Linked DNA regions of Homo sapiens: regions 2 and 3 are each linked to region 1. The links are contacts of gene promoters, found by promoter capture Hi-C in human tissues and cell types (Jung and others, 2019). All regions are on one chromosome and are shown on one strand. The core of a region is centred on a gene start or on the middle of the fragment in contact, and the rest is flanking DNA. Distances in the headings are between cores, read along the strand shown. Region 1 holds the start of LOC124904737 (a long non-coding RNA gene). Region 2 holds the start of SLC17A7 (solute carrier family 17 member 7). Region 3 holds the start of SCAF1 (SR-related CTD associated factor 1).

The links. Contacts are between HindIII fragments. The study calls those that stand out against the background at their distance.
Region 2: the fragment with the promoter of SLC17A7 here is called in contact with a fragment that was not itself captured in region 1 in 1 of the 25 tissues and cell types used here (dorsolateral prefrontal cortex).
Region 3: a contact is called between the fragment with the promoter of SCAF1 here and a fragment that was not itself captured in region 1, in 1 of the 25 tissues and cell types used here (mesenchymal stem cells).

Annotation. Positions count from the first base shown.
Region 1 is chr19:48,726,691-48,729,946 of GRCh38, forward strand. RASIP1 (Ras interacting protein 1) reads right to left here. Exons shown (of 12, transcript NM_017805.3): 5 at 2,247-2,900; 6 at 703-740; 7 at 317-468; 8 at 95-198. LOC124904737 (a long non-coding RNA gene) reads left to right here and starts at 1,454. Exons shown (of 2, transcript XR_007067286.1): 1 at 1,454-1,678. The HindIII fragment of the contact is 9,581 bases long and covers 1-3,256 here.
Region 2 is chr19:49,439,592-49,442,864 of GRCh38, forward strand. SLC17A7 (solute carrier family 17 member 7) reads right to left here and starts at 1,936. Exons shown (of 12, transcript NM_020309.4): 1 at 1,727-1,936. The coding sequence starts at 1,788. The HindIII fragment of the contact is 22,755 bases long and covers 1-3,273 here.
Region 3 is chr19:49,640,532-49,644,188 of GRCh38, forward strand. SCAF1 (SR-related CTD associated factor 1) reads left to right here and starts at 1,678. Exons shown (of 11, transcript NM_021228.3): 1 at 1,678-1,711. RefSeq lists enhancers at 1-128, 129-798, 799-1,468, 1,009-1,108, 1,219-1,568 and a silencer at 1,599-1,888. The HindIII fragment of the contact is 1,761 bases long and covers 1,624-3,384 here.

The DNA.
Region 1 (3,256 bases), core at 629-3,128:
AAACAAGAAGTGATGTTACCACAAACAGGAAGTGATATTACGTGAAACAGGAAGTGATGCTATGTCAAACAGGAAGTAAGAGGCAAGGGCCAACCTTGGTGAGGTAGTAGACAGACTGCTGGAAGGTACACATGATGACCTCATCCAGGAGGGCCATGGCCTCATCACATAATTCCAAGTCATTGCAGAGCTGTGGGTCTGAGGACAGGCTTGGGGTTAAGAGGGAGAACCAGAAGTCGGCAGCCAGGAGCCCAGGTCCCCAGGTGCAGGGCATGATGGGAGACTTGGACAAGCCTGAGCCTGAGTCAGAGCTCACCCTCTTGGTCAGCCTCCTTCTCCATTTCCAGCACCTTCTCCTGCACAAAGCTAAGCAGCTCCGTGGTGTTGGCCATCCACAGCATGAGTGGCCGCAGCTCCACAGACACAGCTTCAGGAGTCAGGGGCACCTCGGGGACCCCCTCAGGGTGGCTTGAAAAAGAGGAAGGAATTTGTGATCCCTGCCCAACCCTCATCATAGTTTACAAACCCCAAGATCTAAGTCTAAGTGGGAGAGCAAGACCAACTCCCATTGCGCAGCTGGAAAAGTTGAGCGCAAGGAGAAGCAGAAACTTGCACTGGGGCATGCATGGGGTGAACACAGAACTAGACGCAAAACCCAACCCCTGCATCCCTCCAGACCACTCTGCTCAGAATTTCTCTTACTTTTCTGGCTGACGGTCTCCAATTTCCTTAATCTTTTCCTGTGGAACAGTAAGATCAGAATCAAGGTGAGGGGGATCCACTGAGGGGCTTAAGAGTTAATACCCTGGTTTTTATAGAAGCACAACTCTCATAGAGACTGGTCCTACTTTTCTTAGAGATGGGGTCTTACTATGTTGCCACCGGTGGTCTCCAACTCCTGAGCTCAAATGATCCTCCCACCTTGGCCTCCCAAAGAACTAGGATTACAGGCATGAGCCACTGCAACCGGCCTTCACTCTTCATACGGATTCTTTTTTTTTTTTTTTTTTTTTGAGATGGAGTTACCCTGTTGTTGCCCAGGCTGGGGTGCAATGGCTCAATTTTGGCTCACTGCAACCTCTGCCTCCCAGGTTCAAGTGATTCTCCTGCCTCAGCCTCCCAAGTAGCTGGGATTACAGGCATGTGCTACCATGCCCGGCTAATTTTTTGCATTTTTAGTAGAGACGGGGTTTCACCATGTTAGCCAGGATGGTCTCGATCTCCCGACTTCAGGTGATCTGCCCGCCTCGGCCTCCCAAAGTGCCGGGATTACAGGCATGAGCCACCACGCCTGGCTCTTGAGACAAATTCTAATCCCACAAGCTTTAGAATGGTCTCTCCTTACTTTTTAAAACATACACACCCTATGATTATGAGTGATCTAGCTCCTTCAGGTCCTCTTCTCCAATTTTTACCCCCAAGAAACTCCTTAAACCTCTCTGGTTAGGCCCTAGCTCAATAGGATGGAACGTTTCCCCCACTCTGAATGGTTTCTTTCTGGAACTTCCATCTGTAGGTCCAGTGGATTTGTGCTTCCTCGCCTCCAAGAATGAACTCGCTCACTGCTATCCAAGCTCCAAGCCCAATGGGCTGCGGTGAATTCTCACACTGATCTCTGTCAACTTCTCATCCAGTGGGATCTCTCCCCCACCATCTCCCATAATGGTTTCTTCCTAAGGTGAGTTCGTGCTTAGGTGAGCTCTCCTAAGGTGAGTTTGGGCTTCCCTCTAAGTGCAGTGGATCTACATCTCCCAGCATTCTATGGGGGGGCCCCTTGCTTAATAACCCCAAAACACCGGGTGTGGTGGCTCACACCTGTAATCCCAGCACTTTGGGAGGCCGAGGCGGGCGAACCACGAGGTCAGGAGTTCCAGACAAGCCTGGCCAATATGGTGAAACCCCGTCTTACTAAAAATACAAAAAATTAGCCGGGCGTGCTGGCAGGCGCCTGCAATCCCAGCTACTCGGGAGGCTGAGGCAGAAGAATCATTTGAACCCCGGAGGTAGAGGTTGCAGTGAACCAAGACCGCCACTGCACTCCAGCCTGGGTAACAGAGCGAGACTCCGTCTCAAAAACAAAAGCAAACAAACAAACAAACAAAACCCAAAACCCCAAATCCTTCCCGAGGCGTCATGGGAACAGTAGTATCCAGCCCAGCTATGAAAAGGGTTGAAGGTAGGGAAGGGAGGCTGGAGAAGGGACTTGGGGCGCTGGTGGGGCTGGACGGCGATTGGGGGGCGCTCACCCAGACGGCCTCCTTGATGAGCCGGGCCAGGCGGCCCAGCAGTCGTGGCAGGTGGCCCAGCTCCAGCTCACGGGCGGAATGCTGCACGCACAGCGCCAGCAGCGTGGCGGGCCCGAGGGGCGGCAGGTCTCCCGAGCCGGCGGCTGCGGCGCGCACGATCTCGCCCAGCAGCGCCTCCTCCTCGCGCGGCCGGAAGCGCAGGACTGGCTCACGGCCGTCCAGGTAGGCGGCCAGTGCCTCGCCGCGCTCCTGCAGGCCGCGGCCGCACAGGCGACAGGAGAAGGCCCAGCCAGGGCCTGGCGGCGTGGCCCCGGGGCGCGCGGGCAGCCACGGCGGCCTCGCAGGCCCCGAGCCCCCAGTGCGGGGGTCCTTGTACATGAACAGGAAGTGCTCGCCCAGCCCCAGGAGGTCGCCCGGGTGCAGCTCAGCCTCCCGCAGCAGGAGGCACCCGTTGTGCGTGACTGGGGCGCCCCGGGACGGGCGCACCATGGCCGGGTGCTCAGGGCCCGCGCGCACTGTGCAGTGACGCGGCAGGATGTCCGGGGCGTTGAGGAAGGTGTCCACATAGGGAGCCGGGGACCCCCCGCGGCCAGACGAGTTCCCACCTCGCCCAAACACGTGCTGCTCTCGCGTCATCACATACACCACAAAGTCCTGGAGGGGAAACGAGGATGCACTAAGGACATCACTTCAATCCATATCTTCAGATCTGTTCTCTCTGTTTTCTACAACAACTTTTCTATTCCCACCAACTTTTTTTTTCCTTCTTCTTCTTTTTTTTTTTTTTTTTTTTTTTGAGATGGAGTCTCGCTCTGTCCTCCAGGCTGGAGTCCAGTGGCACGATCTCGGCTCACTGCAACCTCTGCCTCCTGAGTTCAAGCAATTCTCCTGCCTCAGTCTGTTGAGTAGCTGGGAGTACAGGCGCCTGCCACCACACCCGGCTAATTTTTGTATTTTTAGTAGGGAAAGGGTTTCACCATGTTGGCCAGGCTGGTCTTAAACTCCTGATC
Region 2 (3,273 bases), core at 686-3,185, 710 kb after region 1:
CCAGAATGGAGCCTCAGTTTCCCCATCTTTGTCTAGAGGATTAAATGAGATCAACCTGTTGTCTCTAATATGGGGTATTCCCCTCTCCCTCCAACCATCAGAGCAAACCCCAGGCATTGGAAGCAAATGCTTTTCTCTGCACAAACTCCCTGCTGATGGTCCTGGCCAGAGCCCGGGGGTCTCTGGGGACCCAAGAGGTAACTCAGAGAGTGAGAGCCAGAGAGATTGACTGTGAGAAACCCTAGCACAGATGAGAAACAGAGGCAGAGACTGAGGGAGGGGCCTGAGGAATACATCCCTCCCGCTGCCACCCCCCAGCCCCCTCCACCAGCACGTCTCTTTCTCTCTCTCTCATTCTCCTGACTTCACACTGATGTATTTTGAGAAACTCGTGAAAGGAGGCGAGAAAAAGGGTGGGGAGGGGCTGGAAAATTGGAAAAAGAAGGGGTGAGGTTATCTCAGCTTCCCCTCCACCACCAACCTCCGTCACTGCACCATCCTCCTGCCCACCTCCCCCCACTTCTGTCCAGCCTTATTCTTGTCTCTCATGTTACTAGAGGGTGGGGTAACTTTGGAGCTAAGAGGTGATCTGCAGCAAGCAAGACTGATGTTAGACTTAGCAAAGGACCCCCATGGCCTAGCGAGGTGGACTGAAGCTCAGCGAAACACAGGGTCAGGGCTGTGGGCCAAGGGGACAGGGCCTGAGGGCACGGCGGCAGGGGCATGGTGCTGATGAGGCCATCTCCTTCGTGCACTGTGGCCAGATATATTTTTAGGCTTTTCCGCAGCTGAGTAATTTATCTGACTTAGAGCCAAAGCTGGGGTTGGGGGTGAGAGCCTGTGGGGAGGTGTCCAGATTATCCTGAGGGACACTCGGTTCACTGGGGTCATCAACCTGGTTGGGAGGGAGTCCCTGTCAGCCCCAGCCTGTATCCTTTGGGAAGGCTGTCCTACCCCAGGAGCCGAAATTTTTGGCCTCTAACTCCTTTCTCTCCCAGGGACCCAGGGTGCTGTGACTTCTTCCACCCAGCCTCACCCCCTCAAGGACAACGGGCTATGAGCCCCAATCCGCTTTAGCTGCAGATTAAACTCCATGCCAGACAGAAACGGAAAAAGACACAGAGAGACGGAGAGACCCATGGTGGGAGAATTAAAACACAGAGACGGGGACAGGGACCCAGAGAAGTGGGGACCAGAGATCCAGGGAAGAGGAGAGACCCAGAAAGAGGGGGACAGAGACTCTGAGTCAGGAGTTGATAGAGATCCAGTGAGAGCAATGGCCAGAGAACCAGAGAGAGGGGCACAGAGACGCAAAGAAGCGGAGGCAGAGATCTAGGGAGAAGGAGGGGCCCAGAGAGAAGGGAGCCGAGATCTGGAAAAAGAGGGAGACGGAGACCCAGAGAGAAAAGGGGCAGAGACATCCAGAAAGAGACGGGGACAGAGACCCAGAAGTGGTGGGGGAGGAGCCAGAGACCCGGGAGAGAGGCATTTACAGCACCAGAGAGAGTGGAGCCGGGTGGGGTGGGGTGCAGAAAAAGGAACAGGATAATGGACAAGGCTCGACCAGGGAGAACAGCGCCGTCGGAGCCCACGGCAGAAAACTGGACAGATGGGTGGACCCCCATGCCGGGGTATCGCCCGTTCATCTGTCAGTCTGCGCCCAGGTGGGAATTAGCATCCTCCTCAGATCCTCCCACTCTTCTCCCGGGACCCCCGCCAGGCTCACCGGTGCAGCTTCCCGAGAGCACGACCCGCTAGCTTCCGAAACTCCTCCTGGCGGAACTCCATGGTGGCGGCTCCTGCCGCCGGTCACCCCGCGGGTCCCCCCCGCCGATCCCCCCGCCCGCGGGCCCGGGCGGCCGCGTCCGGGTTCCCGGGGTCCAGCCCCGGCCCGGCCGGCCCCGCAGCTCCGCTCGGGGGGAAGGAGGCTGCAAGTGCAGGCGGCCCGGGGGCTGTCACAGGACTCAGCGCCGGGGGCGGGGCGCGGGAGGCCCCGCCCCGGCCCCACCAGGCCCCTCCCCTCGTCTGTCAGACCCGCCCCCTCTCGCAGCCCTTTCATCCTCGTCCTGTCCCCTCCTGAGCCTTCCAAGACCACGCCTGTGGGTTCTGAACTCACGCCTCCGAGTTCACGCCCCCCAATTCTGTTCCTTCCCCAGGCTACTCCCCCTATCCCTGTTCCATCACCCCTGGCTCCTACCCAGATTTTCTCTCCTCTCCTGAGTTCTCATCCCCATCATTTCTCTCCCCGACTTCTGTTCCCCCTAATTGCGTCCCTTACAATCCTGTCTTCTCTGACTTTCCCTCTGCGTTCATCCTCCAGTTCCTTCACTCCTCCCCGCCCCCACCCCGCAATTCCATCCCCATCCCACCTCGTCCCCAGTTCCAATAGTCTCATCCAGGGAGTTCTTTGTTTTCTCATTCAAGGGAAATTCTTTCCCCTCAAGTCCAACGCCTACTTCGATCCACCTGTCGTCCCCCTCTAGTCCCTTTCGCCACCCGGGTTCTTCACCCTTGAGCTCCATCTCCTCCTTAGTTTCCATCTTTCCCCTTTGAATCCCATACTCCTCCAGCTCTATTCTCCCTCCGGCGTCTCTCTCCTCCCTGTTGCTTCTCTCCCTGAGTTTCATTCCCTAACCCCGATTTTCTTCCCTCTGGCTTCCGCCCCCCACAGTTATATTTCACACACCCCGCCAGTGCCAGCTGCGACCCCATAGTCTCCCCATTGTGTTATTTCTCTGCTCCTCTGGGATCTGTCCGCGCTCTGAGTTCTTCCCTAGCTCCGGGGGATCCATTCCTCTATTTGAGTTCTGTCTCCACCCCCTGAGATCTGTCCCGCCCCCTAAATTGTGATCCGCACCCCCTGGCATCCTCACCCGCCCTCTGAATTTGTCTCCTCCCCTAGGATCTGTCGCTGACCTGAGTTCTGCCCCCGCCCTCTGAGTTCTCTCCCCACCGTTGGAGTTGTGTCCCCTTCTCCTAGGATCTGTCCCTGGCTCTGTTCCCGCCCTCTCAGTTCTGTCCTTGCCCCCTGGAATCTGTTCCTGCCATCTGAGTTCTACCCCTTCCCCACAGGATCTATCTCTGCCCCCTGGAATCTGTCCCCACCCACCGAGTTCTGGCCTCCGTCCCTGGGATCTGTCCCCGCCCTCTGTGTTCTACCCCTGCCCCATGGGATCTGTCCCCGCCCACCCAGTTCTCCCCGCCCCCTGGATCTCTCCCTACCCTCCCAGTCTTGCCCCGGCCCCATGGGATCTGTCCCCGCCCTCCGACTTC
Region 3 (3,657 bases), core at 428-2,927, 910 kb after region 1:
GGAGCTCGTCGACTCGCGCGCGCGGCCGTATATAGGGCGCTCCGAGGAAGCAGCAGGTTTTGAGGAGTAGCTCCACCTCCCTCCTGGGATCCTAGCCAAGCTTTCGACCCCGGCGTCTGGGTTAGAAGCTAGAGTCTCCGCCCGCTAAGGGACCCAGGCTTCCGGTTCCCGCTGTCCCAGCCAAGCGGAAGACAGACTGGGAGGAGAGTGGGGCCCTAGAGGGGGACAGCAGGGTAACGGGGCAGGGAGGGGCCGTGAGATCACTGCATTCCTAATCCATGAGCCAGCTCGCCCAAGTAGGGATGCCTGGGTCATGAAGAGCCTGGGGCCAGGATTTCTGGGTCTTGAAGGAGAAGGAAGCAGAGGGCCCAGACTCCTGGGTCCTTAGGAGAAAATGGGGCTGGAGATGTGGACTCCTGGGTCCTGGGGAGGAGGGTGTCAGGGAGGAAGGTAGACAGGTTCCTTCGTACTAGGTTCGGTAAAGGAGGGAGCCGGGGGCCTGGACTCTTAGGTCCAGGAATTGGAGAGGCTGGGGACCCAGGATTCTGGATCCGAGCGAGGGCACTGGCTTGGGGGGACCCGAATTCGTATGTGAGAGCTTGAGACCAGGACTAGTCTGGGAGACCGACTCTTGGATCCGAGGAAGGAAGAATCAGACTCCTGAGTCGGAGGGAGGAGGGAAATAGGAGTCTGGACACTGCTCTGAGTGAGAGGATTCGGAATTCAGACTTCTCTGTACTGAACGAGGCGGCTATGGGGTCGGGCTTCTAGGTTCTAAGTTTATTTTTATTTGTTTATTTTTGAGACGGAGTTTCCGTCTTGTAGCCCATGCTGGAGTGCAATGGCGCGATCTTGGCCCACTGCAACCTCCGCTTCCCGGGTTCAAGCGATTCTCCTACCTCAGCCTCCCGAGTAGCTGGGATTACAGGCGTTAGCCACCACGCCAGGCTAATTTTTGTATTTTTAGTAGAGACTGGGTTTCACCATGTTGGTCAGGCTGGTCTTGAACTCCTGATATCAGATGATCCGCCTGCTTCGGCCTCCCAAAGTGCTGGGATTACAGACGTGAGCCACCGCGCCTGGCCTATTTTTATTTTTTTAGAGGCGGGGTCTCCCTATATTGCCTAGGCTGGCTTCTAACTTCTAGGCTCAAGCCATCCTTCCGCCTCAGTCTCCCGAGTGGGACTACGGTGTGCGCCACTGCATCCCGTCTGGTTCTAAATTTAGGGGGGCCTAGAGGATCTGGATTCTGAGAGCCCCAGAATGTGGGCAGCACAACATCCAGCAAGTCGTGCTCACTCCGCCGGACTACAATTCCCTTGCGTCTGTTCTGCCTGGCGCCTCTTACGTCACCTCCTGTTCCGCCACCCTTTCCGCGCGCGCGCAGGGCACTGTGGGGCGTCATCGCGGGCTACCGCGGCCCCGCCCACTTCACCTCTCACCCCATTAGCTGTCCCCGCGCGACAGAGGCGGTGCGCGGACTACGCCTCCCGGCGTGCATCGCGCGGACCCCGCCCCATGTGTCCCATTGGCTTCTGGGAAACCGAGTGCGGTTGCCTTCCCGCCGGCCTTCACGTCGCCGTGCTCGGTACTTGAAATCCCGGCAAGCTCGGCGGCGCTTTAGCTCCGCCTCTCTCCTCCTTTGCTCACGAACCCCGCCCCAGCCCGCCCCGCCCCGCGCCGGGGCCGGAGCCGCAGCCCGAGCGGCGGGGTAAGATGGCGGCGGCAGTCCGGGCCGCGGGGCTCGGGCCTATTGGGGTGGGCGGGGCGGAGTTGGGTCGCTAGTTGTCCCGGGGTCCTCCCCACAAGCCACGGGTCCTAGAGGGCTTCTCGGGGCGGTCTCGGGCCCGGCAGCTGCGGCGAAACCTGGCGCCGAGAGGGGGGCCTTCTCAGGGCCCCGGGACGCATCCGTGGGTTCCTGGGGGCGTCTATGGGGCGTCTCCGAGAGGACTTGGGGCGTCTCTGGGCCTAGACCGAGCCTAAGGCCTGCCCTCCATCACACAGCTGGCCTGGATCGTGTCTGTAGACACTGTAGATTGTCTTTTTGGGCTGACCGGAGGCTAGGGTCTGGTTAGAGGGTTCTGGGGCCATCTTGAGATCTTGAGATATGTCCCAGGGGTGAAGGAGGGTCTGCAAGACCTGAAGAGTATCTTCAGAGCCATCTAGAGGCCTGGGGTATGTCTTTTAGGGCTGGAAAGTGTCTGCATGGGCTGGCCTGAGGATGCAACTGGTCTGCATAAGTCTGGGGCCATTTATCAGGCCTAGAAGGAGTGTTCAAGGGCTAAGAAGTCATTTAGGGCCCCCTAGGGGGTTGGGTTATGCCCACCAGGGAAGGGCGCCAAATATTGAGATGTACTGAGGGTCTGGGGTCTCCAAGGTATGGGTAGTGTCTAATAATGGGTGACAGGAGGCTGGGGGCAGTTAGAAGGACCTGGAACCATCTAGATGGCTTTAATGTGACTGCAGGAATGCAGTTTTGATGCCTGGAGCAAATTCGAATGCCTTTGGGGTCAGAGCAGCTTGTGGCGAATAATAATACGGAAAGAGAATGAGGAAATTTTGCCCAGCTTAGATATACTTGCCCTTCAGACAGTAATTCAAATGAAAAATGTTTTAAGATTCTGCATTACCCTGGGGGTTATTGAGAGAGTTAGAATTAATCTACATTAGTCTGGAAGAGTCTGGAGGGTCATCTAGACCCACTATTACAGTGCTTTTCAAGGGGAAACCTGGGCCATGTTGACCGTGATCTGCATTAAGATACATTTTTTCATTGAGACCTGGTACAGACAGTCATAATGTATTTAACATTATATAACATAATGTATTAACATTAACTCACCTTCCACGAATTGACATTTCCACTTACTACTTGTGCTGTGCTGTGAAGAACTATTTTGTTCTATTTACTTTTTAAAACAAGCTATTTGTGAAGCACTAAACTGGTATATGACCCTGTTGTTGGGGAAACCACTGATCCAGATAGGACCTAGCAGTATCTGCAGAGCATTCTTCTGTTCAGAAGATCTCAGTAGCTGAGGGTGTGTCTGCGAAGCCTGGTGCTTTCTAAATGAGCAAGCAAGCATCTTTGTATACTGCAGAGGGTTTGGGGATCCCTCAGCCTGTAGTCAGCAGATGTTGATTAAGCTTCTGATATGTGACAGTCACTGTTGTAGGTAGCATGTGCTTCCCCGGGAGGTGCTGGAGAGCAGTTCCAGGGCCAGGAACTGGGGCTGAGCTTATTGAGTATTGGTGAAAGAGGCTGGGATGTAATAGACTATCAGGGTTGGGTGTGTCTTAGGAAGTTAGGAATTAGGTGGAGCTGGGAGGCTGAATATGGAGGCTTGGCATGGTTTGAAAATCTATATGGGATCTAGAACAGGACCAGGGCCTTGTCTTTGCAGGCATGCTGTGGGGGAAGCGAGGAGACAGATGTAGGGGAAACCTGGGCGTTAAGGGCTAATAGTGTCATTCCTCTTCATCCGTATTGAGCACTTGAGGTGCTCTAAATGTGTGGCAGAAGTCAGGCTTTGAGTATTCACAGCCATTCTCTGAGATAGATGCTCCTATTTCGTGCATTTACAATTAAGCATACTGAGTTGTGGGTTAGGGATTTTGAAGCTTTCTAGGAATTTTGAGATTGGATATTGTCTTATG